Regions from separate parts of the Homo sapiens genome. Here region 1 is linked to region 2. The links are contacts of gene promoters, found by promoter capture Hi-C in blood cells and fetal thymus (Javierre and others, 2016). All regions are on one chromosome and are shown on one strand. Each heading gives the region's core, a stretch centred on a gene start or on the middle of the fragment in contact. The rest is flanking DNA. Distances are from core to core; before and after follow the strand shown.

The links. The method cuts DNA at HindIII sites, captures the fragments that hold promoters and counts their contacts. A CHiCAGO score of 5 or more calls a contact.
Region 1: a fragment that was not itself captured here is called in contact with the fragment with the promoter of CSMD3 in region 2 in 1 of 17 cell types (M2 macrophages); the score reaches 5.4 in M2 macrophages.

Annotation. Positions count from the first base shown.
Region 1 is chr8:117,039,052-117,045,705 of GRCh38, forward strand. It overlaps a transcript of SLC30A8 not described here. Among named protein-coding and RNA genes, the nearest start is that of SLC30A8, 93 kb to the right of the region's middle. The HindIII fragment of the contact is 252 bases long and covers 4,045-4,296 here.
Region 2 is chr8:113,434,124-113,441,153 of GRCh38, forward strand. CSMD3 (CUB and Sushi multiple domains 3) reads right to left here and starts at 2,816. Exons shown (of 71, transcript NM_198123.2): 1 at 2,554-2,816. The coding sequence starts at 2,731. RefSeq lists enhancers at 1,400-1,910, 3,688-3,737, 3,750-4,250. The HindIII fragment of the contact is 6,354 bases long and covers 1,126-7,030 here.

The DNA of each region.
Region 1 (6,654 bases), core at 2,921-5,420, 3.6 Mb after region 2:
TTTCTGACCTGGATCTCAAATAATAAATGATGATTTATTCCTTTATCATTCAGACAGTCTTGTGCACCTACTGCAACCAGACCCCTGCTGGATCCTGAAGCTCGAAAAGGGAATAAGATGTATTTTCCACCTTCAGTTTAGTTGCTCATTTTTTACTTCTCTTACAGGAGAGAAGACGTGTTTTCTTGACAACAGCACAGTACCTAGGTATATCTATATTTACTCTGTGTGTGTGAGAGGGAGATCAATATGTATAAATTTGGTAGTATGCTTTATTTTTTTCTTTAATTTTCATTAAAATTTTGTTTTACTTGTTTTCTTTTCTAATAATATATCTAATGGCTTACATCTTTCTTAATAGATAAAAATATCCTTATGAGCAAATATTTCTACTCAGCTCTGGTGCTTCTTTTTCTGCTACACATTCTATGCAGCTCAAATCCCATTCTACTCATGAATCCTTTTTGATACCTGTAGTCACGTTAGGCTCTGCCCCATACTTTATACAGACAGTCTTGTAATGTAATTGTCTTTCACTAGTGCCTCCAACTGAGCTTTAGTCTCTTCAAGGACAGAAGAGGACATTGTTGAGGCCTTCACAATATTGTCTATCCAAGTGGACCCTTGAGGGCAATGGTTTGTACTCCTAGTGGGAGGCATCAGTGAATAATAGCTGAATAATATCTTGCTTTTATTATGTTTTTAGCTTTTCTGTATGTTTGTGACTAGCATGCATATAGTAGGTGTGTAGAAAGTAGATACATTTATTTAACTGTTATTTGAGATGCAGGACAGAGTTTCCAGTGCCATTTTTTATAGCTTTTGATTTTTTTCTGACCTCTAGACCTTTCTAGGCCTTTTGATAAATTATCTTCTCCTCCCCCCGAGCTTTCCCCTCAAGGAGAGGATACTTCCTTTAGGTCATGATGCTAATATGTCTGTGCTAACATCTGAAATTCAAGTTCACTGTTTTTCTTCCCCCATCTCACGTAGCCTGTGTATGTACATATGCCTGTGGACATTACACTTACAGACACATACAAATTTCTTTCTGATCACTGTGACTTTCTGAGCCCTTGTCTTCAGAGGTCATTTTCCTGAGAGCTTGTGACTAGTTCGGAATACAGAGGAGCTCTTAGATATCTTCTCATACAAGAGAAGGAAGCAATTTGCGACCTAACAATAGGGTTAATGTCAGCTGGTCATAGTTTAGTGAGTTTAATTACTGGAATTTCTATATAATATTACCCCAAATGACATCTGGGTTGGAATGAACATGAGATTCCTTTTGGGTGAGCAAAATAAAACAGGCCATGCAAAACTATGCTCTGTCTAATCCTTGTGCCTGATGCACACGGGCTTCAGTGACATTTCTGGAACTGATTTGTACTTAGCCAAGATGCACTTTTTAATAAACTGCAAGAGGAAAATGGCATTAGCTACTTTAACAAGGAAGCAAAATATATAGTTGGAAAGTGAGAATGAAAAATGCTTAAGTAAAAAGATGAAAGAATTTTTCCTTGTTCACCCACCTCATTCCCCGGATTAATTAATACCTATTTTGCCTCCAAGTAAATACAGGATCAAAATGGTAATGAAATGAATTCATTTTTGCAAGCATTGTGAATTGGACTAATTTCAAATTTGTTTTAATGAAGGCAAGCGTAAGCACTGACAATTGCAGGAAGCTCAATCTAGTATTGAAGATGAGCTAACTAATGCCTTTCATTTCAAAGTGTAATCCATGAACCAGCTTCATAGCATCATCTAGAAGCTTCTTAGCAATGCCGAGTTTTAACCCCTATACATAGATCTCCTGAATTCGAATCTACATTTAGCAAGACCCCCAAGAGACATATATGCACGTGAAAATGGGGAATCACTGGCCCATGATGTTGCATTTCTGTTAGGGGCTTTCTCCCATAGAGTAACCAAAGAACCAGTCACCCAAGGGAGATAAACTGAGGACCAGATTTGAGAGGTTTCCAGCCACACAGGGAGGAATGCACAGATGCATGCTGGATTCCGCGGTGCCAAACCAAACAGTTTGCCATTTGCTCTGACTGTTTTATTGCCCTGAAACTATGCACTCAGCTTCTTCTGAGGCTTCCAACACACAATGAATCCACAGAAAAAATAAATAATGTAAAGGTTTTCTAAGGCACTTGGCAGCAGAAGGAATTTTTAGTGGGGCTCAGATTGAGGGAGGGGTGGAGAAGAGGAAGAAATGGAATTTGGACATATAGCAGAAAGGAATTCCTAAACACTTTCCGAGTTTCATCACCTTGGCAGGTTGAAAAAGGAATTTGTATGTGACAGATTCTAGAATTTGCCCTGAAAAATTTCTGATGGCGGGCTGGGCACGGTGGCTCACGCCTGTAATCCCAGCACTATGGGAGGCCAAGGCGGGTGGATAGCCTGAGGTCAGGAGTTCGAGACCAGGCTGCTTAACAGAGTGAAACCCCCGTCTCTACTAAAAATACAAAAAATTAGCTGGGCGTGGTGGTGGGCACCTGTAATTTCAGCTACTCGGGAGGCTGAGGCAGGACAATTGCTTGATCCAGGAGGCGTAGGAGGCAGTGAGCTGAGATCAGGCCATTGCACTCCACCCTGGGCAACAAGAGGTAAACTCTGTCTCAAAAAAAAAATAAAAAAATAAAAAAAATTCTGATGGTTGAGGGAATGAGAGTCTAAACATTTTGAGCAAAGGACTTGACACATTGATTGCTTTAGGTCCTAGGTCTTGTGTGTTTTAGTGAGAAGTGAGTTGCTTCTGCCGTCTTCAATAAGATACATTTCAGTTACAGCCTCTTCATCCCGCCATTCGGTGTTTTCATTTGGGCAGTAGACAGCTAAAATATTGGCCAATGAAGGAAAACAGATTTCCCAATGAATAGTTCTACGCCATGAATAAATGAGATTAGAGGGATGCCTAAACTAATTCCAGGTTATTACAGTCTTCATCTCTATCCTAATTATCTTTAGTTTCACTCCTGGTTTATGGACAGAAATTTAAAGCCAGTACATTTTATCTTCTGTATCATTTAGTCCCCTTTTGACTGAAGCATTGCAATATTCTCTTTAATTTTCATGAGAATGAATTTCACCTTTTATGACATTCAAAGACATTATGATGTCTTTATGAAAAATGATGTCACCCTGATATCAGCAATAAAATAACAATGTCCTAATGCCAATAAATGTGTTAACCATATCAGTCATCTTTCAGCTTTTCTGGCTTTGCTTCGGAAACTGCAGAAAACCTCAAGGTTTTTAATTTGTGAGCTCTGCAGAAGCAGTCATGGCACTTTACATTTTCGTCTGGTTGAATGCTCAGGAAATGGACCATAATTAAGTGACTATCTTGGTAACAGGCAGGGTTATTTGGATAATGCCTAAATCAGACTGGATTTTGCAGACTTTCATGTATCTGTGTATGTGAGGCGGGGCGGGGTTTGGGAAATGTATCCTCAGGTACTATCTGGTCTGGACCCAAGGAAGCCGGTGCTGTTTTATTCCTTACATTTAAAGTCCTGCTTTGGGAGTCATCCTCTGGGAAACAGCCTGCTGAGACTTGGAATAGGCTAAATAATACTAGATTTGGGGGCTATGAATTTAGTGCTTTTTTTTTTTTTTAGAAGGAGTTTCGCTCTTTTCACCCAGGGTCAGGCTGGAGTGCAGTGGCATGATCTTGGATCACTGCAACCTCCGCCTCCCGGGTTCAAGCGATTCTCCTGCCTCAGCCTCCCGAGTAGCTGGGATTACAGGCATGTGCCACCACAACCGGCTAATTTTTGTATTTTTAGTAGAGACGGGTTTTCACCATGTTGGGCAGGCCGGTCTCGAACTCCTGACCTCAGGTGATCCGCTGGCCTTGGCTTCCCAAAGTGCTGGGATTACAGGCGTGAGCCACCGCGCCCAGGCTAATGTAGTACTATTCATCTGTCAATTTACAGGGTTACTTATGTGAATCAACCTTTATGGAGGGTTTATGCTTAGGATCATATCAGAAACCCTGCAGGATATCAAAGATATATAACATAAAGCTTTCTTTGAGCAGCTTATATTTTTTTGGTTGGGGAGAATAAGTTTCCAGACAGTATATAATTAGAGAAAAAGCAAAAATGTAGAGTTTTCACTCCCAGTTAGCATGGAGCCTGTTTTTTGGGATTCTAGCATGCTAGAGCTTATCAAGTTGTGATTTGAATTACAGAAACCAAGGACATTGGATCCAGACCCTCCAAACTGTGGACTTTCAGAGACAGGAAATCAGCATGGGCTTCGTTGGTCAGGAGAAGCTTCCGGCAGAAAGAGAACTTGAGTGGGTTTGTGAGGATGAGTGGGAAGTGCGTGAATAGAGAGACACCAGGGAAGTCATCGTATGTCAGGCAGTCAGAATAATCACAAAAGTGAGAGAAGCCTGGCATGTATTTGGAAAAATGAGAGATACTCCTGGTTGGGGAGATACCACACAGGTGATAAAGGTGATTGATAAAGATAGGGTCAGATTTCAGAATAACTTGACTATAAAACAGGGGTATTTTAACTTGATCCCATAAGGTCTGACACCAGACACTTTTCCCCCATAGAAAAATATAATACGGATAATATTGTGACATGTGCCTGTGAGCTACTCAGAGATTTGTGCAATTCTCAACATTTTCCATTTATAATTCTCTCCACCTGCCTTGCCCCACCACCACCCTGGGTTGAAAATGGCGTACTGAAATCCACGTAAATGAGATACCTCAAAAAACAGTAGGTAGAATTCATAGTTACATTATATGAAAAGGTAAGTTCAAAAATTTCAGTATGTTTTTTAGTTCTGCAATTATTTTATTCAATAAGTGTTGAGGAGGCAACTTTAAGCTACAGGCTATAAGGTAAACTAAGTCAGATGGAGACACTGCCTTTGAGGAGCTTACATTCTTTGGGGAGAGATGATCCATCAACTAGTAGTTATTATATAGTGTTGGAAGAACTGTAATGATGGAAGCGTAGGATGTGATGTGAGCTTTGTGAGGGGACTCTCATTAGAACTGGCCTTGACAAGTCTATCCAAAGGAGGTGACATTTAGATTGAGGACTGAGGAGGTAGTGGTCTTACCCAAGTGAAGAGCCTGGGGTAAAGTGTTCAGGCAGAGGGGTATCCGCGTACACAAAGGCCAAGAATTCACCATTGTTTCTGGGGCTGCTGTGCAACAGAAAGTCAGTATGGAAGGAAGACTAGTAAATCGGTAACATTGTTTATTCATTGGACAAATGACTGAGTACACATTGGAGGCTGTTTGTCCTTATTAGGTGATGTTATTCTCTGCAAAAGGGTGATGGAGAATCCAGTAACGAGGCCTGGAAACCAAAGGGCAAATTTATCACCTTTTTAGACGCGCCCACCAGTCCCCAGAGGACGCGTCCCAGCAGATGATTCTTGTTCAATCAGCCAACAACTGGGTTTGGAGGAGAAAGCCAAAGCATCCCCAGGGGGTCGACTGCTTCCCTAAGGCGTGTCAGCGGGTTGACAGAGCACAAGCATTGCTTCTAGAGCAAATATTGAGCGTGGTTTTCAGAGAAAAGGTTTATCTTTGGGGTATAATTATTTGGCCCACTTAATAGACGTCTTGAAAAATAGGGCTCTCTTCTTTTTAGCAGAGCTTGAACAAAAGGAAACTTAAAATCAATTAGAGGGAAAGAGAAAACCTATTTCTGTCCTTTTGGAGACAAAAGCTGTAACACAATTGGTTAAAATTCGGGGAATCAGATCCTCCTGGGCGGTGGGGGAAATACTGCTGCAGGACCGCGGAGCCCTGGCTTCAAACGCAGGCTCCTGCTGCCATCTTGTGGCGAGAAGGCGCCTTCTGCCTCAGAACTAGCTGCAAATTCCGAGCTGTTGTGCTTCTCGTGGCTCCATCCACAAGATGCATTAAACAAACGCGAGCCAGGGATTCCAGTAGGGAATTTAACACTGGCCTGCCAGGAATTAATTTCTCTACTGACAGCATTGCCTTCTGCATCCTCCTTCTTTTGGAAAAGGCAAAATTTCATCCTTTCAGCGGTGTAACTGGGAGCCAGCCCAGCTTTGATGGAACCACGATTTGACCTTTTAAAGCATGTTGGAGGGTAATAATATGGACCATTAGCCTTATTCTTCTCCTAAAGGAAGGTTCTGGTTTTTCTAGTGGAGGAACCTTTTACAATCTGGATGGAGGAAATGCTGAGATGCTCTATAACATCAGGGAAGAATATTGCCATCTTTCTCCTCACCAGGCTTCCATTTCATCGTTCCCCCACCGTACTTGAAAGGTTTTTTATGATCCAACAAATTACCTTTTTTTAAAAAAAGCAGTTAATTTATTGTTTATTTGGTATTCATCAAAGAGACCCCTAAGTGTCAATTTTGGTTTCTGGAAACTGAGAAATGACAAACACAGCTAGCCTGGGTTAATATCATTCCAGCCCAAAGCAAAGAAGTTGGATGTTTTGGCAGCTTGTGCAGTTTTATTGTGGATAAACAGGCAGTGTCTGTTAGGTTTGGAAATACTGAACAGAGGCCACGGGCTCCCACTCCCATATTTGAAGAAGCAACTTGGAGTCCGTGACCTAGGTGGGCTGACTCCAGGTGACTGCAGGGTAAAAGCCTGACATATACTCTGCTCG
Region 2 (7,030 bases), core at 1,566-4,065:
GTCATTGCTGTTGAACGCAAAGGTGAGATGGTGGAGGGATGAAAACTGTAGGCAGATGGTGTAATTCTCGTGGCTAGAGCTGTTCACGTGGAAAACTGCCTGCCTCGGACTTCCTGGACCCTCACGCTAGTCTAGATTAGAACCTGCAAAATCCTTACAACGGCTCCCCAGTCTGAGGTTTTTCATGGACCTCACATTCCAGAAGAAAGTGTAGAAGACAAAAGCGAGCATAGACATTGGGGCAAACAATGTTTAAGGCATTGCATCAATCTTGGCTTTAGGAAAGCCTTGAGACAGGTGAAATTAAAATAAAATGAGGAAAGGGAGAGTAAAAAGCAACTATCAAAATTGGCATCATTCGGAGATTGACAGCAGGTCTAAAACATAAAACCTATGCAAATTTCTCAGAATTTGGGGACAGTATTCCAAGTCGTAAAATGTAGGAGATGCCTTCCAAGTGCCCGATGAGTGACAATAACTTTATTGACATTGAAAAAAAATGTTTTTTACGTATAGTCTGTAGAATATTGATTTTGCACAGGATCAAAGAAGGCTATGACATACTCTTCCTTCTCAATATCTCCAAAGCTAAACCGATTATATCAGTCCAAAGTAAATTAACGCGCCTTTCCTTTCTATCGGCGCATCTCATTCGGAAAATACGGTAGGTGCGGGCAGCCGGGGCTCTAATTGCAGGCGGCGCGGATCAGCGTTAGTCAGGCTGTAATGCTCGCCCCGCTTCGGAGACTTCCCTCCCCCTCATCTGCCCCCGAATGTGTTTTGGCTCAACAGGTATCACATGAAAACTCGCACTTAAACCCTGGTCATCTTCTCACAGGAGCCACCCTTACATTTTTCTGCCAGGGCTGCTGCTGGCTATTCGCGCCTCCCCCACGCGAAGCGCGCGTCTAGCAGGCAGCCCCAGGGCCATCCATTAACCACCAACTCCCAGTGGCAGGCGAACTAAGCATAAATGTGTGGCTCCTCACCCGTCGAGCCAGCGACAAAGAAACCTTGTAAGCAACCTGAGCCGTGCTTTGTACATTTGGCAGTGTAGTTGTGCCACTTAGGACAAGCTTTTCGGCTCAGAGCTGCTCTGAGGCCCCAGAGAGAAAAGAAAAATCAAGCTTCAAGGAGCAGGTTGGGATTACAAGGCAGTTGCTGCCACAGAGACCGGGGCGACTGACTTCCTGGCATTTTGGGATGTAAATTAAAATTCTAGACATGCCACCCATCATTGGTTATAGTAGAGGGAAAGGTAACCTCTCCAGCTCCCTCCTCCCAAAACATGAATTATCATTTCCACTGAATGCAAATGAGCTGCCTTCCGTGGGGGGACAGCCAGCTGCAAGCTGGACAATAAACTGTTTCATAGAGACGCGGCCCGATTGCAGTTCAGAGAGGCACTCCTTTACAAAGGAAGAAGCGTCCAGTTTGTGTTGACAGCCCTGGCGCGCCTGGGCCAAAACAGCACCCCCTTTCCCGCGATCCCCCGCCCCCCCGCGACACACAGACACCCGGGATTTGAAACTAGCTTCACTGAAAGCGGCATCCATAGCGTCTATTCGAGCTGCCATGAGTATGGAGAGGTGATTGTTCAAAAAATGATGGCATGAGTCATAAACACCTCCTGAGTATTCTTTGCAGCAATTAATGGGCAGCAGGGTGCCGGAGAAGTTGTGGAAGAGAGCTATGGATCTATTTTCTCCCTAAGGACAGCTCTTTTTCCCATGATCCTGACTGTCCCTTGCCTTCCTGCTTGGGAATACATTTTTACATCCCACCTACCCCCTCCCCTATCTGTGCATGTGACACTCACTCTACCTGTCTGAACGCTGAGACTTGCTGGGGATTTTCTTTTGGTCGTCAGCTAATGACTTTCCTCCTACCTCATTCATCCCTTAAGGTGGTTCTTTACACTTCATGGCATTTCAGACCCTTCGAAAGCCTCATTTTTTGCCAAACCTCTACCACAGGTCCTAGGGAAGCTCCCCTACATTTAACATTGCATAGAAGCCCAATTTACATACATATGCATGCAGACATTCATGTTGATGTGGCAGTGCTTGGAAGATCCCTGTGCCCTAATGCATTTAAAATCAACACATTCCTAGCACGTCGATAACTTTCTTCCCTGAAAGGGTTAAAAAGCATTTAGACCAGCGTCTTTAATATATATATTCCACCCAAAGCCTCAAGCCCTAGTGATCTGACAAGAAATCAAGGTAATCCTCACCACTAAGAAAAGTCTTGCAGAGGAATTCTGCCTGGATATCCACTAGTTAGAGGCTATACTAACCAACTCACGTATTCGTTTGAGCATACTGCAAGAATATTTATTGAGCACAAGCTCAATCACCGCATTGAACGCCAAATCTGGCAAGCAAAATGCATTTCCTATCTGAGGGGGGGAGAACGAGCTGTGAATCAACTCCTTTAGTATTATCAGATTATTTTATCGGTGCAAATTGCAAAGTAAGCTGCCAGCCTCTCTCCATCTACAAGTCAGCCCACCTCCATCCAAAGCGGAGGGGACCCCCAAAGCAGACCTACCTTTCACACAAGACACCGTCAATAAAAAGACGAGGTTCCAAAACGTAAATCCACTTTTAATCCCCATTTTCTTCATCAGGATGAAGTCTAGGCGGCCACATTTAGCGCATCTTCGCTTGCCAGGCTCCCAGGGTTTGGATTCCTTTGCTCGGCTTTCCCCTTTGCGGATCCCTTTCATATTATTCGCGAGCTCCTAATTCCTGCTCCTCAGCCCGGCGCAGTGGAGTTGTTGCTGTTGTTGGTGCGCGGTCACAGCTCGGAGTGAATGGTGTTTCTGGGATACCACAGCAACCTTGACGAGGACTCAACCATCTCTCCAACGGGGGCACAAAGTCTCCGCTACTCTGGATTCTGTCTTTTCTTGTGCGTTTTTTCCCCTCCACCAAAATCTACCCCAATTCTGGCTCGTTATAGCAACCACCAGAAACCACTAGTGAGCCTCTTAAAGCCCACCTCTGCTCTCTGATAAACTCCACACAATATTTGAAATTAAGGGGCTTGCTTTTTTTCCCCGAATAGATCAATTCTGCCTGTAAAAGCAGCCCAAGAAATAATGTTAGTGAGCTCTCCGTTGCAGGCTGCGAATACAGAAGCATGTCAAAGGAATATTTTAATCGGAGGATCTGTGTTGCTTTTGGGGAAACCGTGACGATAATGAATCGGGCTCCATCGATGCCCACGTCGTTATAATGGGACATGTGTTACTACTGTAGTTGCAGTATATTTCAGGCAGGCTTCTCCCATTTATTATCCTGTGATTTAATTGAAAAAGGAAATCACAGAGAATTTTCTCAATAAATTCTGCCTTCACACGGAAAAGAATGTATTTGAACACATGTATTTACATACTCAAATAACTACGTGTAAACCCTTCACCGGGTTTTTATGATTCGGGAAACGGATTTCATCCGTGGCCTGGGCGGGGGTGGGGTGGGGAGGGAAGTCAATGTCGTTTCCTCAAATAGTTCTCCCTTTCATCCTCCCAACCCCCTTTTCAGTTTGTGTGTGCCGCAGTTAAACTACTTTATCTGTGGTAGTTATCTAGAACAAACCCATTTGTCTTAATTCTGAATCGGTACCAAATATGTAAATAGGAGGTTTCTTTCAAAACGAAAAATGTATGTATCTATACATCTGGATCTGCTTCCCCCATGCACCACGCAAGGGTTAAGATTGCACAAGGGAAGAGTTCTTGCGCCATCTACTGGCCGTCTCCGAGCCGCCCGTTCTTCCTTCGCATGTATAAGGGACCCTGTTTTTGCCATCCCTTGGTGTCAGGGGAGCTGTGTCCCCGGGACCAGTATGTCGTGCTCCTTGATTTTTTTCGACCACGGTCCTGGCCCAAATCTTTCAATGAACAAGTTCCTTAGATTAGGCAACTGATTGGTGATCTGACCTTTTCGGGAATCTGGTCCCCTCTCAGCAGTGGGGAGTGCCACAGCGCTAGTTCTGAAACAGGATATTGCTGTTGCGTGTGGCTCCATTTAACTGCCTCAGGCTATCATGGGCGTGAGCGTCTATCAACAAGGCTTAGTCTAGAGGACTGCCCAACTTGAGTTTGCAGCTCCCTGCACTGTGCACAAATAATGGGTTTGGTCCCGTGCACCACAGCATTACCCTGGCCAGCTTTGTCCCTTGGCTCGCGTTGGAGCTGCCCGCTCAGCAGAGGAAGGCGTTAGAATCTGGAAGGAGTTCCGCTCTGGGAAGTGGGCACACTGCGAGTGTCCATAGGTTTGAGTGGCGAGTGAGTTCAATCTGCAGGCGTAGGAAGGCTTCTGATCTCTCGGGGTACGTGGCATTGTGTGTGGGCCTGTGATTCTCCCAGTTCGTGTGTGTGTGTGTGTGTGTGTGTGTGTGTCTGCGCGCGCGAGAGCATAAACGCGCTGTAGTGAGAGGTAAGTGTGCGTGTTTATGAAAGATACAAAGAGTGATTTGCCATGCGTAGGTGTTTTCCCAAGTGTATTTTTGCAGTACATATGCGTGTGCACGCCTGTGTGTGTTTGTGTGTTAGAGAGGGATTTCTGTCCTGGGTAGGGAGCTGTAGCAAAAGGTAAAAGCTGTAGACGCCCAGCTGACCTCATTAAATTCAGAGAGATACTTTAAGAGCCCTCAGGCAGAACATTGTCCCTTCTTTTCAGTGCTCTCTTTCATTGTCTGCATATGCAGGTTTCGAAGGGGAGTGGGCAACAAGGTAGGGACTAGACAGAGACTGGGAGGATCAACATGGAAAACGACATTAGCCTGCTAAGCCACCTTGGCAGCTGCTCTGGCATTGATTTCAGTCAAGATGTCAGCGTGTGGTGTTGCTGCTGTTGCCTTTGCTGGGCTGGACAACCAGTTAGAGATGTAAACAGGCCCTTGGACTTAATGAGGATGCTCAGCAAAAATCCTCCTTACCAAGTGTGCAGAGGTTAGTCACCTCAACTGAATTTACTTCTTATTAAAAGAAACAAAAATATTGGGTTTTATGCAATCTATTTGAACACATAACACATGGCTATACATCCAGACAGGAGGACTTCATGCCAAAAAAGCAAACAAACAAACCCCCCCGCAAAAAACCCTTTCTCAAAAGACAGGGTATTTTAACAGTAATTATTGTGCACAAAGTAAGTAAATTTTGATTAAAAGACCATAAAGATTACTAGTAAGATACCAATTTCTGATATTTATTTTCAAACACATGGCTAATCCTGTAATCCAATTATCTTTCCCTAAATGAATCCTGCCTATCATTTCATGTGAGATTGTTAAAAGATTTATCTGGAATCTCATAATATATTGAACAATACTATAATATCTAGTTTCTACAGCTCACAATAAATCACAAACCATTTTCACCTGTGTCTTCCAGCTTCTGAGACAGGATGGAAAATAATATTTCACAGACGGAAAAAGTTAAGGCATGAGGAGCTAAAGAGGTTTATCCAAAGTCACTATCAGGAACTTTGGTGTTTAGTCCAATGTGTTTAGGGCTAGATCTCACTAGTCTTTCTTGATGAACAGTATCCTCTTTAAGGAAAGATTTCCAAAGGTATTCCAGAAACACAAAATTTTCAGCCACAATCCTGGGTGAGAATCCTTTAGTTTCTCCAGAAGGGGTGGGGGCGGGGGAGGGAACATAGTGTCTACATTTGGGAGAAAGAAATTATCTCTTGTTGCTAATCTGTAGGAAAGCAACACAGCTATACATTCATTTGTGTGAGACTATTAGAAAGAGATTATGGAAAAATAGCTAACATAATAGCAAACTTCAGGTGCTTATTGTACATTAGGCATTGTGCTATGTTTACATAAGATATATTATTCAATCCTCACTACTTTCTGAGACAAGCTCTACAGCTTTCTGAGACAAGCATAACAACTATCCTAGTTTTACAGATGAAAAAAAAATTGATACACATAGAAGTTAACTGTCTTGCCTTGCCTGAAGTAACACATGTAAGAAGTATGAACCTATGGCACCTGATTTCAGAGTTAATATGCTTCCCTAATGTCCTATATTTTATGCTAGCTCCTACAGATGCTTGTTTTGAAATAGTCTAGTAACAAAAAGAATGAATCATTTTTACAGTACACATGATACATAATTATAGAAAAGCAATAATTTATAGTTTATAAGTGATAAAATTTTAGAATATATATGTACACATATAAATAAAAAACTTTTGTCCTTTTTATACTTATCAGTTACGAAAATTCCTCCTCTTTTTAAAAATTTTTATTTACTTCTTGCAGCCTATTGATCTTCCTACATATAGGTCGTGGTAAAACGTGACTTGGCAAGGATCATCAAGACACAATGATTAAGTACCCTTAAGAGCTTTTAAAAAGAGGTTAAATCAGAAATGCACAAGCTCTTTAAACTAGAAGTACTAGATTTCCATTCCTTTCCAGTTCCTTCCCCAAATACCTATGGAATACAATTAACTTTGATCTTAAAACAGGGCTGAATTGCACTAAAAAAGATAAAATAAGCCCCTCTCCAAAAATTGCCCAGTATTAGACTAGCCCCTTCAACATGTATTTACTATGTTTTGTCACCACAGGAGCAATATCAAAGATAAATGAACAAAATAATCAAAACAAAATGAGTACACTGAGAAAACACAACACAAAAATGTGGGAAGTGCGTTACCTTTAACTTTGGAAAGAAGCATATACTTTTGACAGCTATAAACTTAGTGTTTTTTTTTAATTTATATAATGGATATAAAGGTTTACATGGGGATTCTTGCTCAAGTGAAGTAATTTTTTTATAGAAATGTTCCTGCCTATTAAAACTAAATGTTCATTGACTGTAGACACACACACAGACACACAGACACACACACACACACACACACACACATTCTCACATGTATTTAATTAAAAGGCTGAAAATCAAATCTGTGGGTCTGTGGGAAAAAACTAGTTAGAGTAAGATAAAATGTTAATGATTACAAATAACCAAGCAGACATTTTCCTGCTCATTTGC